Regions from separate parts of the Homo sapiens genome. Here regions 1, 2 and 3 are each linked to region 4. The links are contacts of gene promoters, found by promoter capture Hi-C in blood cells and fetal thymus (Javierre and others, 2016). All regions are on one chromosome and are shown on one strand. Each heading gives the region's core, a stretch centred on a gene start or on the middle of the fragment in contact. The rest is flanking DNA. Distances are from core to core; before and after follow the strand shown.

Region 1 (3,204 bases), core at 117-2,616, 310 kb before region 4:
ACTCATAAAGATATCTGCATTCTCATGTTTATTACAGCATTATTCACAATGCCCATGATAGGGAAACAGTGTAAGTGTCTGCTGATGAGCAAATGGATAAAGATAATCTGATATATATATATCTCAGATATATTTTAAGGCAGAACAGTATTGTATCTCATATATATATATCTCGTATACATATATCTTGTATATATATCTCATCTACATATATCTCTCATATATATCTCAACTACATATATCTCATATATATATCTCATATACATATATCTCATATATATATCTCATCTACATATATCTCATATATATCTCATCTACATATATCTCATATATATCTCATGTACATATATCTCATATATATCTCATACATATATCTCATATATATATCTCATCGACATATATGTCATATATATATCTCATCGACATATATCTCATATATATATCTCATCTACATATATCTCATATATATATCTCATATATATCGCATATATATCTCATCTACATATATATCATATATGTCTCATCTACATATATCTCATATATCTCATCTACATATATCTCATATATATCTCATCTACATATATCTCATATATATCTCATATATATCACATATATATATCTCATCTACATATATCTCATATATATCTCATCTACATATATCTCATATATATCTCATCTACATATCTCATATATATCTCATCTACATATATCTCATATATATCTCATCTACATATATCTCATATATATATCTCATCTACATATATCTCATATATATATCTCATCTACATATCTCATATATATCTCATCTACATATATCTCATATATATATCTCATCTACATATATCATATATATCTCATCTACATATATCATATATATATCTCATCTACATATATCATATACATCTCATCTACATATATCATACATATATCTCATCTACATATATCATATATATCTCATCTACATATAACATATATATATCTCATCTACATATATCTCATATATATCTCATCTACATATATCATATATATATCTCATCTACATATATCTCATATATATCTCATCTACATATATCTCATATATATATCTCATATACATATATCTCATATATATCTCATATACATATATCTCATATATATATCATCTATATATCTCATATATATCTCATCTACATATATCTCATATATATATCTCATATATATATGAGATACAATACTGTTCTGCCTTAAAAAAGGAGATCCTGCCATTTGTCACAACATGGACGGACCTGGAGGACATTATGCTAAGTGAGATAAGCCAGAAACAGAAAGAAATGTATTTAATGATCTCACTTACATATGGAATCTTTTAAAAAAATGTCAAATACATAGAGACAGAGAATAAAACAGTGGTTACTGGGGTGGGGGGATGTGAAGGAAATGGGGTGATGAAGGTCAAAGGATACAAAGTAGCAGATATGTAGGATGAACAAGTCTAGAGATCTAATGTACATGAGGACTGCAGTTAATGAAATTATATCGTATTCGGGATTTCATTAAGCACATTTTAGCTGCTCTTGCCACAAAAAGAAAGTGACCATGTGAGATGATAGATATATTAATCTGCTTCACTGCAGTAACTATTTTACTATTTAAATGTATCCAATAACATCATATTGTAAACCTCAAATATACACAATAGCATTTATTTTAAAAATAATAAAAATTAAAATTAAAATATAGTAGAATGATACTAATTTCCAACAGCTTGCTTTACAACCGTCCTCTCTTGCTTGTGGGAAGAAAAATGGGTGACTCCTGTAAAGTAACTTGTTTATTGTGGCTTAAACCAAGTAGCTCCATTGATAACCCCCATCATGTCAGACATGGGTGAACCTATTTAGGAAACCAATAGGGTAATATGACTGGGATGCTGTGAAAGTCGTGGTGTTTTTTTTTTTCTTTTCTGTCCTAGTCTTAGAAGAAATCAGGCAAAATGTCCCTTTTCAGGGGAATGATTGATATACACTCACCATTCTCTGCTACAAGTAGTTGAATTCTCCAGTATATTTTGACGAGTTGGTGAGGTAAGGTTTAGACTTAATCACAGTCAAATGCAAGTTGATATATGCATTAATGATAACAGGAAAGTTTCCCTGTCAGAGCGGGAAGCCTAGGAGGATCTGAGAACAGTACTGGCATCTATGAGTAGTTGAAGATGGCTAATCTGTGTGGTTAAAATACAGCTCAATCAGTTAAACACTTGAACGTGGCTTGGAGTGAAGGCCGCAAGAGACAGTCCACCGAAGGCAGAGAATAAATGAATGTGTTTGCTAGGCTCTGCTAATAAGAAGGAGACACAAAAATCTGTGGGGCATTTTGGGCTTGGGGGACACCACTCGCTGTTCCTGGGCATCTTGCTAGCTAAAATACATCGAGTGACAAGAAAGAAAAGTGTGAATTTGAAAGATATCCCAAAACAAAAACAGGCTTTGAAGACTTACAGAGAGCTGTAACCCAAAACAGCACTATTTGGGTTGGCCTACTGTACAAATTATTTTGGAGGTTTTTACTATCTAGATAGATATGTGCAGATTGTAGTCTCTTGCCAAAGTTGTTAACACTGTTCTCCTTGCACTAAGCAGTGACTGCTGGAAGAATATTGAATTTGAAGATACTTGATGTCAAGACAAGATATGGCCCCTTTGAGAGACAATTACTGCCCTTTTACTGGGCTTTAGTGGAGATTGTTCCCACCACTCAGGGATTTCAAATAATTCTGAGATCTAAAGTACCTTGATGTCATAGGTAATGTCAGATTCATTCTGATAAGGAAGGAGCAGCTCAACAGAGCTCAGTGTTAAAATAGAAATGATATATTTATAGGAACGCTGCACTTGCTATGGCCCTGAAGACATTGTATCCATAAATATATTGCTACTTTGCTCTTAGGACCAACAACAGGAGCCCCCAAAACTGCCAGCTCTTGGTGCTGAGTGGTTTTAATCATAGGTTTCTCTCCTTGTTAAAGTAAAGTGAGTTTCCTGGTTTACTGATGGAAGCCCTCAAATCAAGGATGCACTGCAGTCTGGATGTTTGCCCCCATTTGATCAGTAGGTCATAAAACCTTGGCTGAAGAAGCAGGGGTAACTTGAGCAACACTCAAAATTGAGGGCAGTATACCCATAGAACAGTAAGAGCTTGGACTTGCCAAGGCCTTGATGTATA
Region 2 (3,211 bases), core at 157-2,656, 350 kb before region 4:
AGCTTCGTCTTAGAGGGGCACCCAGGTGTATGAGGTGTCAGTTGGCCCCTACTGGGAGGTGCCTCCCGGTTAGGCTACTTGAGGGTCAGGGACCCACTTGAGGAGGCAGTCTATCCATTCTCAGATCTCAAACTCTGTGCTAGGAGAACCACTAGTCTCTTCAAAGCTGTCAGACAGAGACATTTAAGCCTGCAGAAGTTTCTGCTGCCTTTTGTTCCGCTATGCCCTGCCCCCAGAGGTGGTGTGTACAGAGGCAGGCAGGCCTCCTGGAGCTGTGGTGGGCTCCACCCAGTTCGAGCTTCCCAGCTGCTTTGTTTACCTACTCAAGCCTCAGCAATGGTGGACGCCCATCCCCCAGCCTTGCTGCCACCTTGCAGTTCGATCTTAGACTGCTGTGCTAGCAGTGAGCGAGGCTCTGTGGGCGTGGGACCCTCCCAGCCAGCCAGGTGCGGGATATAATCTCCTGGTGTGCCATTTGCTAAGACCATTGGAAAAGCACAGTATTAGAGTGGGAGTGTCCCGATTTTCCAGGTACCATCTGTCACAGCTTCCCTTGGCCAGGAAAAGGAATTCCCTGACCCCTTGCACTTCCTGGGTGAGGCGATGCCCGCCCTGCTTTGGCTTACACTCCGTGGGCTGCATCCATTGTCCTGCACCCACTGTTTGACAAGCCCCAGTGAGATGAACCCGGTACCTCAGTTGAAAAGGCAGAAATCACCCATCTTCTGCATCGCTCACACTGGGAGCTATAGACTGGAGTTGTTTCTATTTGGCCATCTTGGAACCTCTCCCTTCTAATTCTTAAAAGCAGAAGATAAAATTTCCACATGAAAGATGTTCTCCCCTTATAAGAAGGGAAGTAACATTCTTGTCAAGAATGCAAAGTTGAGGCAAAGGGAAATCTGTACAAACAAAAATTTGTTTCTCAGTCTCAGCTGAAAACTCTAAGAGGATAGAAATAAAATTTTGCCTACTCTGCAGCTTCTTATTACAGACACTAAAGATATTTGAGTTTGTAAGTAAACGTGCTACATTTAAAAATTGTACGATGCTTTCTCATAGTTATGAAATGGCATACTTCCTCATTTTTGCTGAAAATTAAGTTTACTAAGAGCTAAGAATTAATTAATATATGTAATTAAGGACACTAGAAATAATAAGAAAAACGAATTAATATAAATTAGACAAGGAAAGTAAGGTTTATTTTTGGTAAGATAAGTTATAAAGTATAAGGATGTGTTTTTTGCTGAGAAAAAGAAAATTATTGTTCTATTTTAGAGTTTAAAGCTTGTTTCAAATGAAAAAGAGGGAAATGAAGGACAAAAACTAAATGGACATAGAAATTGGGGTGGGGGGAGAGAGAGAAAGAGAAAGAGATAATATGAAGAGAGATAATCTTATGTAGTTAGGCTGGCTGAAATGAAATGAATTTATTATAATGGTTTAAAAATGAGGCTTAGTATCAAAAGTATGTTGAGACAAAATTAGATTTTGGTCTTATTTTTGTTAAAAGAACAAAGCTTTCTTAGGTTATTGGTGTATTCCTGGTAAGTGACTATGAAAGGTTTCTCTTTACCTCCTAAGTGATTTGCCTAAAAACAAAAGGATTTTGGTCTTATCAAAATACTTTCCTTTGCTTCATGTTGTCTTGATCATGTCTGACAACTTAAGAAAACAGACTTCTCTGTTAAAAGAGCTGAGGTTTTTGTCAACTATATAACTTTCTGTATTTGTCTTTGAAATCATTAATTCTTATTTTGGTTACAGGGATAACTAAGTATTGTTTCAAGTGTCCCATTTAATCAAGTGTTTAAAATCTTTTGACATTTTTGACTATTTCACCTTCCCCAAACCAAATCTTAAATACAATCTGCTTGACCTCAACCTAATTTTGAGATTTTCCAGAGGGCTGCTGGAGAAACACAAAGGATTAATATCTAGTCTTATCAGAAAGAGATGTTAAAATAATTAGGTTTATTTGGTATGTTAAATTGTATGGGAAGCATTGTTAAATAAGAAGTGATGATAAACCTTCTTTAGATTATATTTATGTGGATATAGGTATTCCAAAAATTATATAGAGTTGTTAGAAATTTTTTAATTTTCTTATTGTCTGTATAATCAGTTATAATCCTGGTTATTACCTTAAAATGTTATATGTCACAGAAATAACCATATTTCCTCATCAATTTCATTTATATAAATGCTTATCATCATCTTTAACTGTGGTCATTTTAAGTATTTTGTCATTCAAAAATAGTTATTTTTTTACTCTGATGGTTTTTCTAGAAGTTTTTGCAAGTAGCTATGTTACAAAATTGCAAAATTCTGACAGGTTTCTGATAGCTTTAAAATCATACTACTAGGGTTGTTCCTAGCCTTGCAGGTCCACAAGCTGGGGCTGGATGACTTGATATGCATTTCAGAGAAATCACCACAGCAGCTCATATGTTGACAACCTTTTTGCCTGCTGTGTGGGCCATGCAGAAAGTTAACCAGAATGCCCAATGGCATCACCAGAGACATTCAAACTGCAAACCAGGAAAATCTATTATATTGAAACTGCCGTATTAGAAAAAAAATGCTGTTTACACATTAATAAGCCAGGAATTGTAGCCCAAAATCTTAAAGATCTAAAAGATCAGATCCAGATATTCACCAGATTGGGGAAGGACAATCAACTGATCTAATTTGTTAAATCTTGGCTATTGGGGACCTTGGATTTGGGATATTTTTAAAGGCTTGCCATTATCCTCCTATGATTTATAGTCATAATATCCTTCTGTGCTGTCATCTTTCAAGAGTTTTAAATGCTTGTCAGCAGCCACTAACTCAGCAGATGATCTCCATGAAGACTGAATGAAAACACTACAAGAACAAGAATCATCAAAAGAGCCTATCAAGATTCTAGTTTGTAACCAACAGATGTCTACAGAAAGAAAACATGTAAATACTGAGGTAATGGCGAATAATTGGTCACACTCAGTTCAACTGAGAGAATGACCAAAGGGAAGAATTGTTAAAGAAAAGTAAAAATGGAGACCATGGTTTTGATGTACTTCAAGGCCAACCATAACCACATAGCCAAAACTTGAGCCATTCTGAAATGACCTAAGTTTTCACTGAAATGCCAGCTCTAATCATAAGCAAAACACAAAATGTATGCTTTTGTCTTTGTCAGCATGATTCAATAAAATTAAGCCAACCAGCT
Region 3 (3,350 bases), core at 306-2,805, 290 kb before region 4:
TACTCAAACTCCTAGGGGGAGCATGCAGATGGGTAGGTGCAGAGGCTGTGTGGAGCACTTTTGGGCTTTGGCCCCATGGCAGCATCTAGGGATGGGTGTCTGCGACTCCCGAAGCCCAAGTGGGCATGTGTTACAGTGTGCTTTTTCAGCTTTGCTGTCTGCAGACAGCTTGTGTTAATCAGCTCAATAGACCCTCTGCCTTATTGCAAGGGCAGAGGGCCAGTGTGACAGCTTTCTGTATCCTGAGCTCTTACCCAGTGTGTTGGAAAAATCGGATCACATGTGGGCTGGAAGGATCAGTGCAAAGTTTTATTGAGTGGTGGGGGTGGCTTTCAGCAAGATGGATGGGGAGCTGGAAGAGGGGGATGGAATGGAAATGTGGTCTTCCTCAGGAGTTGGGCTGCCCAGCTGCCAGACTCTTCTCTAACCGCCCCCGGCCGAACTCCTCTTGGCATCCAGATGTCCCTGCTCTTCTTTCTTTCTCTGCCATGTCGTTCTGCCGTTGCTGGTCTGCCGGTCTGCTGGTGTCTGCTGGTGTGTTCTTCTGCTTCGCTCAACCTTCAGCTGCTTGCGTCTGTGCCTGCTAAGGCCTTAGGTTTATATGGGAACAGGATGGGGGGCATGGTAGGCCAGAGCAGTCTTGGAAAATGCAACATTTGGGCACGAAAACAGGAGTGCCTGTTCTCACTTAGGTCTGTGGGCACAGGCCTGAGGGTGGAGCCATCTCCAGGGACACTGTCCTTTTTTACCCAATACTTCCCTGGCCCCCATCCTGTGTGAGTGAGATTCTTGGAGGTAAAACTATAAAAAGTGTGGAGGCCCACCTGACTATGATCTCCAGGACTTCCTGATTGTGATCCCCAGGAGTTTCTCCCTTTCACTCTAGTCCACACTTAGCCTCCAGCAATTCCACTATGCCAATTCCAAATGACCACTGAAGCGTTCCTACCAGTTTATGGCTTCAACATCTTCTGCTCCAGATAAACATACCTCAACTCTGGCTCTGGATTTGTCCATTTCTCCATTTTGGAGGAGAGGGGAATTGCCTTGTAACTTTAGTTCTTTATTGAGCCCAAGTAAAGTTGTTGATTTTCAGCTTTCTTGCTTTAAATAAATCTAATCCCAACATAATTTCCAATCTTTTGCATGCATTTTCTTCTTTAAACTTCCATTATTTTCTGTTTCTTATTTTCTAAAATTTCAGTGTTATATACCTTTGGTGTAGGTTTAAAAAATTCATTTTATTGAGTCCTTAATGAACTCTTAAATTTTAGGATTCTTTTTAGTATGTCTTTGAAAATCTGCTTTTTGTTTCTTGTTGTTTGGATATTTATTTTTTCTTTGAGCCTATAATTTATTATCTTGTTTACCCTCTTTTATATTTTTGGCCTACTTTCTGGGATATTTCTTTAACTTTGTAATTCAACTTTTCTATGAATTCTGTTATATATTTTGTTACCATATTTTAAGTTTCAAAGGACTTTATTTTTAGTCATCTGAACATTCCTTTTGTTCTTGCTTCATTGGATTGTGTCTCAGTCCATGTGAGAATATTAATTATGGTTTTTATTGAAGATTTCTTATGTTTCCTGCATTATCATTTTTTCCTAGAGTTGATTTCTGTGTGTGATCATTTGCTTGTTTTGTCTCTACTTTCATGTTGGAGACTCTCTTCAAATGTCTAGGGATCCTTGACTCTCCCCTCATATTTAAGAAGGAGGCCTGAAAAAGAGGCCACGAAACTCGGTGTAGGCAGAGCTTATACACTAATGGGTCTCACTAGAGGGTGTTAGACAGGGATTTGGCCATTCGATTGGAGATCTCTTAAACATATCAGAATCTGTAGGTCTTCTCTTTTGTGCTGGTCAGTCTCTAGAGATTTAACCTCCCGTTTTAAGCCAGTTGGGGAATAAGATCTAGATGTTTCAACTGCTCCTTTTTAAAGATTTCCAACAAACCTCTTAGTTTGTTTCATTCATTACCTCCATCTCCAGAGGTCCTAGGTGCCTTCGTTTCTGAGCCTTTCAAGAACTCTCTAGTATAAATTAGCTTGATTCTTGTTGGCTTCTCTCTATGCTCCTCAATTTTCTGTGCACGTGGACACACACACACACACACACACACACACACACACACACACACACACACACACAGAGTTACTTGAAGGCCCAGACCTTTCTCTCTCCTGATAAGTCAGTTAACACTTGTTTAATTGCTTTCCTGCTTGTGAACTTTTTGACATCCTTTGTCTGCTTTTGTATTCCTTCGTTTTTTCTTGTTCTTCTGAATCTTTTTCACTTTTACTCCTTTACTCTTCTTTTAGTGAGGTCACAATAGGGAGTGGAGATAAATAAATGCATTTATTCAGATAAACTATATTTATAACCTTTCTCAATCTACAACCTTATTTACCTTGGTGTTGTAATTGGTTGTGAAACAGGCATCATTTTATGCTTTTGACTGGCCATTCCAAGCCATTCTGACAAGAAGAACTTGAGCAGAGACTGAAGATTGGCCTTTTAAAATTTTATCTCAAATCACTGACAATTCTGTTTAATCTGGACTCCTGCCTTTACATTTTTCTACTACACATTTATAGAGTTTTAAAAGTTGTTTAGTCCCTGAGGAAATCCTGTTTGTGTCCGCTAAGCATACTCAGATGCAGAAGTATAAAAGAATACCTAAGCTACTTACTATAAGTCATACAAACAAGATGGCTAAATATCAATTAAAATATTTTATTTAAAACATTAAAACTTGGGGGTTCATACTTTTCCTTAAACAGTGATGCCTTGGCAATAGACTGAATAAGTTTGAGGATCTCATTATAAAACCAAGCAACAATTATTTGTTGAAGTGCCTGAGTTGATACCTGGAGGAACATGAAGAAAATGTGAAATATTGTTCTTGCTCTTCTCCTAGACACTTAGCCATGCCCTGTGGAGTCCTAATTTGATCAAAAGCACAGGCTTTTCATTTGATACATAAAACTAAATCCCCTTCCTGCCTAGTTGGTGAGACATAGTTATATATGAAAAATACTAGCAATACAAGACAACACAACACAACTAAGTGTTTAATCATCAGTCAGAGCCAGCAAATACTATGACATCAGAACAGGAGGTCAAAGAGAGTAGAAGCAGATACCACAAATATTTATTGAGTTCTCATAAAGTCTGTGTTTTAGGTGTCCTGGGAACACATTATTGAATGAGAACTTTCTAGATAACTTGGCTTGGTCTTGAATAATGCACTGGATTTATACATGGGGAGAAAAAGAAAACAAAAACAAACACACATCACATGAGCGGATCACAACACTGTGACAGAACTGAGACCTGTGTGTGATA
Region 4 (3,516 bases), core at 719-3,218:
GACTAAGGGCTGTCTCTACTGCTACTACACGTGGTTCGGTACATACAACAGTGCCTGTTACATAGTAGGTAGGCAGTAAGTATGCTGAATGAATGAATCATTTTTTTGTCCTTGAATCTGACTGTACCTTAATAAGCCTTTCCCTCTTTTGTTATGCCAGTTTGAACAGGGTTTCCTGATATATACAACCTAAGAGTTGTAAATGGTATTAACAGTTTTGTTCTCCATTTACTGTGAATATGATTTTGATCTCTAGTTCATTTCACAAAAATGATATTTCACTATATTACTGCAGTCTGGATGCACCTACTTCTCTCAGTCCTTTTTAGTTTGTACCCTTTCTAAGAATGTAAAAATATCCCAAAGTTTGTGAGCTTCACAAGGACAAAAACTGTGTCCCAATCATCTTGGTATTCCCTTGGACATGTATAGCAGAAATTAGGGCTCAGTAAATAGCTACTGAATTGAACAAAATCCCCAGGTCCTTCCCTATCTCTCCTTCGCACACTTCCTATTGCACTAGTGTTATCTTCTGAGTGGTGGCTCCTATTTGCCTTGGTCCATCCAGGACTTCTTTTGGGTTGAAACATTAAGAAAATTAGTATATTTATACTTTTTTGGCATCTCCCGTTTTTGAACAAGACTGGTTAAATGAAAATCATTTACCCATATATTAATATGGGTAAGCAAATATAGGTTCAAAAAGAAAAAGAGATGACTTCAAAAACAGTCATCTCTTTAAAAATCGAAACATCAAAAGGTTAACATAAATTAATTTCCACAATAACAACACATTCAAATGTAGTTAGGTTGAAGCTATATGTGTAAATTCATTCTTGGCACAGAATTCGATCTCCCTTCTTTTATGAATAACATCAGCTTGTAACTCCTGACCAATTTGGCAATGTATCTAAATTACGCATAATTAAAACTGTCCATAGGGCAGGCGAGGTTCCAAAGGTATGATTAAATGATTTGTAAGTATTAATATATCATAAAACAGTCAGTTGTACACCTTCCCACTGAGTCTCACGTATTTATAAATGTAGGGAGTTTTCTAGATTGTGCTGACTCACAGGAAGATAGCTGGAGTATTTTTCAAAGGTTAGGAAAAGATCTCCAAGCTGAGCTTGAAATTCAGCTCTGACACCCCGACACTCAACTCCATTCATGAACCTGATGCCTCCCTAATCGAGCAGCACCAAGCAGTTATCAGAGGCTGAGCAACAGGGGAGCTTCGATGGCCCCCATCCAAAGAAGTTCACATATTATCACAGATGTTGCACCGGGGTGGCCTCCTTTACTTTTCCCCGTAAGGTCAACCCGGGAGGAGGGGACGGTTGGGGAGGTGTAATCTCCCCTTTTACGGATGATTCTCAAGGGCGGAGACAGGAACTGTCCCAGGTTATGACCATTGGCAGCTACGGAACAAGGAAGGAGCTGGAGCCCTTCCTCCTGGGCTCTCAGCCCGGCCCCAGGCACCCCGGATCTTGCACATCCCTGGCATGAGAGATGGCCCCCTTCCAAGAGCGGTGGCCCCGGAGGCCCCAGCCCCTCCAGCAGCCCGACTCCCTCTCCCGACCCCCGCCCAGGCCGCGCCGCCCACTCTCGCACATGCGCACCTCTGGAAGGCCCCTGAATCCAGGGCCGCACGCAGGACCCAGCCAATGAGCGGGACCCCCGCCAGGTGCTTAATGTTCTTCAGGGGGATGCCTTTGCTGCCTCCCCGGGCCAGAATTAGGGCTGCCAGGTGCGGGGGCTTCTCCACACCTCGGCCCTGGCCGCCGCGAGAGTTGCGCTGCAGCTTCGGCGGCCGGCCCCGGGACGGTCGCCCCCGCGGGTTGGAGACGGAGGTGGCGGCCCCCTTCTCCACCGAGTCCATCTTCCTCCCACGCCTTCTCCCCAGCTTCTCCACATCCGGGAGCTAGTCCCTCACCACCTCAGCTCGGCGCCGCCCGATCCCCGCCTGGCAGCTGGCGCGCGCGGCCGTCCCTCGCCCCGCCCCCTCCCCCGCCCCTCGCGGTGCTCGCTGGGAATTGTAGTCCGCGGCCGCCTCGTCTGGGGCCAGTAGGCCAAGTAGGCTCTGATGAGGTGACCCCAAAACTAAGTCAAGCAGTGGGAGTCCAGAGATATTTGGAGGAAGTGCGGCTTTTGGGGTGCTTGCAAGTGTCTGTAAATTTCTAAAATTAAAAAAGAAAAAAAGTATTTATAATTGCTGAAGAACTTCCCCACTTTAGAATTGTGGTGGGTTTCCCGTTGCATACCTTGATGCACCCTGACACGAATCCATTTTATATTTTAAAATGTACATTTTAAACATACACCTTTTTTTAATGCCCCTGGGTCATTTTTTCCAAGAAATTACTGACCAGCTCATTCAAATATCCTACAGGCGCCTTAAACTCAACGTTTTAAAAACTCCATTTTTCATATGCTCTCCGCACTTTGATCGACATCAGCATTCCCTAGCAGCAGAAATTTGGAAGTCAGCTTTACTGGTCACCTCTAGTGTGGCCGACACTTGGTTTTTTGGTTTTGTTTTGTTGTCTGCTAAAAATCTTTTCCTTTTAGGAATTGATCCCTCTCTCATCCGGTGAGGGTTTCCCTCACATTCTCTGCACTGTGTGTGACCCAAGCTGGTCCATCTACGCACCCCATTTTCCTTAACACACCTGTGGTCTAGGGACAGGCATATGACCAAGCAGAGCCCACTGGAGTCCTTTCCAGAGAGTCTTGGAAAGAAAGGATCTTTCTCGTGCTGACTGGGTGCTAAGGACCTTGTTAACCTGAAGCCTCAGGGCAAGGGTAGGGTAGGGCGGCAGGGGGGCTTTGCTGTTCTGAAATGGGCTGGAAGACTGATGTTCTCCCTGAGGAAGCAGAACAATGACATGTAGGGATTAAAGAGAAAGAATTCTGGAGGCATCATTTAAACTCTTTTTTTTTTTTGAGACAGATTCTCACTGTGTCCCCCAGAAGGCTGGAGTGCAGTGGCACAATCTCGGCTCGCTGCAACCCTCTGCCACCCATTCTCAAGCGTCCTGAGTAGCTGGGATTACAGAGGGGCACCACCACACCCAGATAATTTTTGTATTTTTAGTTGAGTTGGGGGTTTCACCAGGTTGGCCAGGCTGGTCTTGAACTCCTGACCTCAAGTGATCTGCCCGCCTCAGCCTCTCAAAGTGCTGGGATTATAGGCATGAGCCGCCACGCCTGAGCATTTAAACCCTGATCCAGCCAAGAGGCTCAAAGACATACACCCACACACACCTCTCTTAGGAAAAAAAAAAAAAGAGACTTTAAAGCAGGCATCTCTGACCTAGCATGCATTTTGTCTTTCAGCATGTTTGCAAGCCTATATTTGGAAGTAGAGTCTTTTACATTTCTGAGATGGAGGCTGATACAAACAGAAAGAATGGATTGTAGTGTGTCGGCTTGCCTTCTCCCAGAGGGCAAAAGGATTTTGTACTTCTCAGGTCTTGGCCATTTTTGAGGGGAGAGAAGAAGTCTTTGATGTTT

The links. Contacts are between HindIII fragments. The CHiCAGO score rates a contact against its expected background, and 5 or more counts as called.
Region 1: a contact is called between a fragment that was not itself captured here and the fragment with the promoter of CMAS in region 4, in 1 of 17 cell types (erythroblasts). The highest score is 6.6, in erythroblasts.
Region 2: a contact is called between a fragment that was not itself captured here and the fragment with the promoter of CMAS in region 4, in 10 of 17 cell types (naive CD4 T cells, activated CD4 T cells, total CD8 T cells and 7 more). The highest score is 11.2, in naive CD4 T cells.
Region 3: a contact is called between a fragment that was not itself captured here and the fragment with the promoter of CMAS in region 4, in 2 of 17 cell types (non-activated CD4 T cells and erythroblasts). The highest score is 6.5, in non-activated CD4 T cells.

Annotation. Positions count from the first base shown.
Region 1 is chr12:22,355,929-22,359,132 of GRCh38, reverse strand. No RefSeq gene overlaps it. Among named protein-coding and RNA genes, the nearest start is that of ST8SIA1, 23 kb to the right of the region's middle. The HindIII fragment of the contact is 7,951 bases long and covers 1-3,204 here.
Region 2 is chr12:22,397,674-22,400,884 of GRCh38, reverse strand. No RefSeq gene overlaps it. Among named protein-coding and RNA genes, the nearest start is that of ST8SIA1, 65 kb to the right of the region's middle. The HindIII fragment of the contact is 233 bases long and covers 1,290-1,522 here.
Region 3 is chr12:22,336,988-22,340,337 of GRCh38, reverse strand. No RefSeq gene overlaps it. Among named protein-coding and RNA genes, the nearest start is that of ST8SIA1, 4.0 kb to the right of the region's middle. The HindIII fragment of the contact is 6,355 bases long and covers 1-3,350 here.
Region 4 is chr12:22,044,670-22,048,185 of GRCh38, reverse strand. CMAS (cytidine monophosphate N-acetylneuraminic acid synthetase) reads right to left here and starts at 1,968. Exons shown (of 8, transcript NM_018686.6): 1 at 1,623-1,968. The coding sequence starts at 1,882. RefSeq lists enhancers at 836-1,541, 1,857-2,151 and silencers at 1,844-2,071, 1,715-2,084. The HindIII fragment of the contact is 10,395 bases long and covers 1-3,516 here.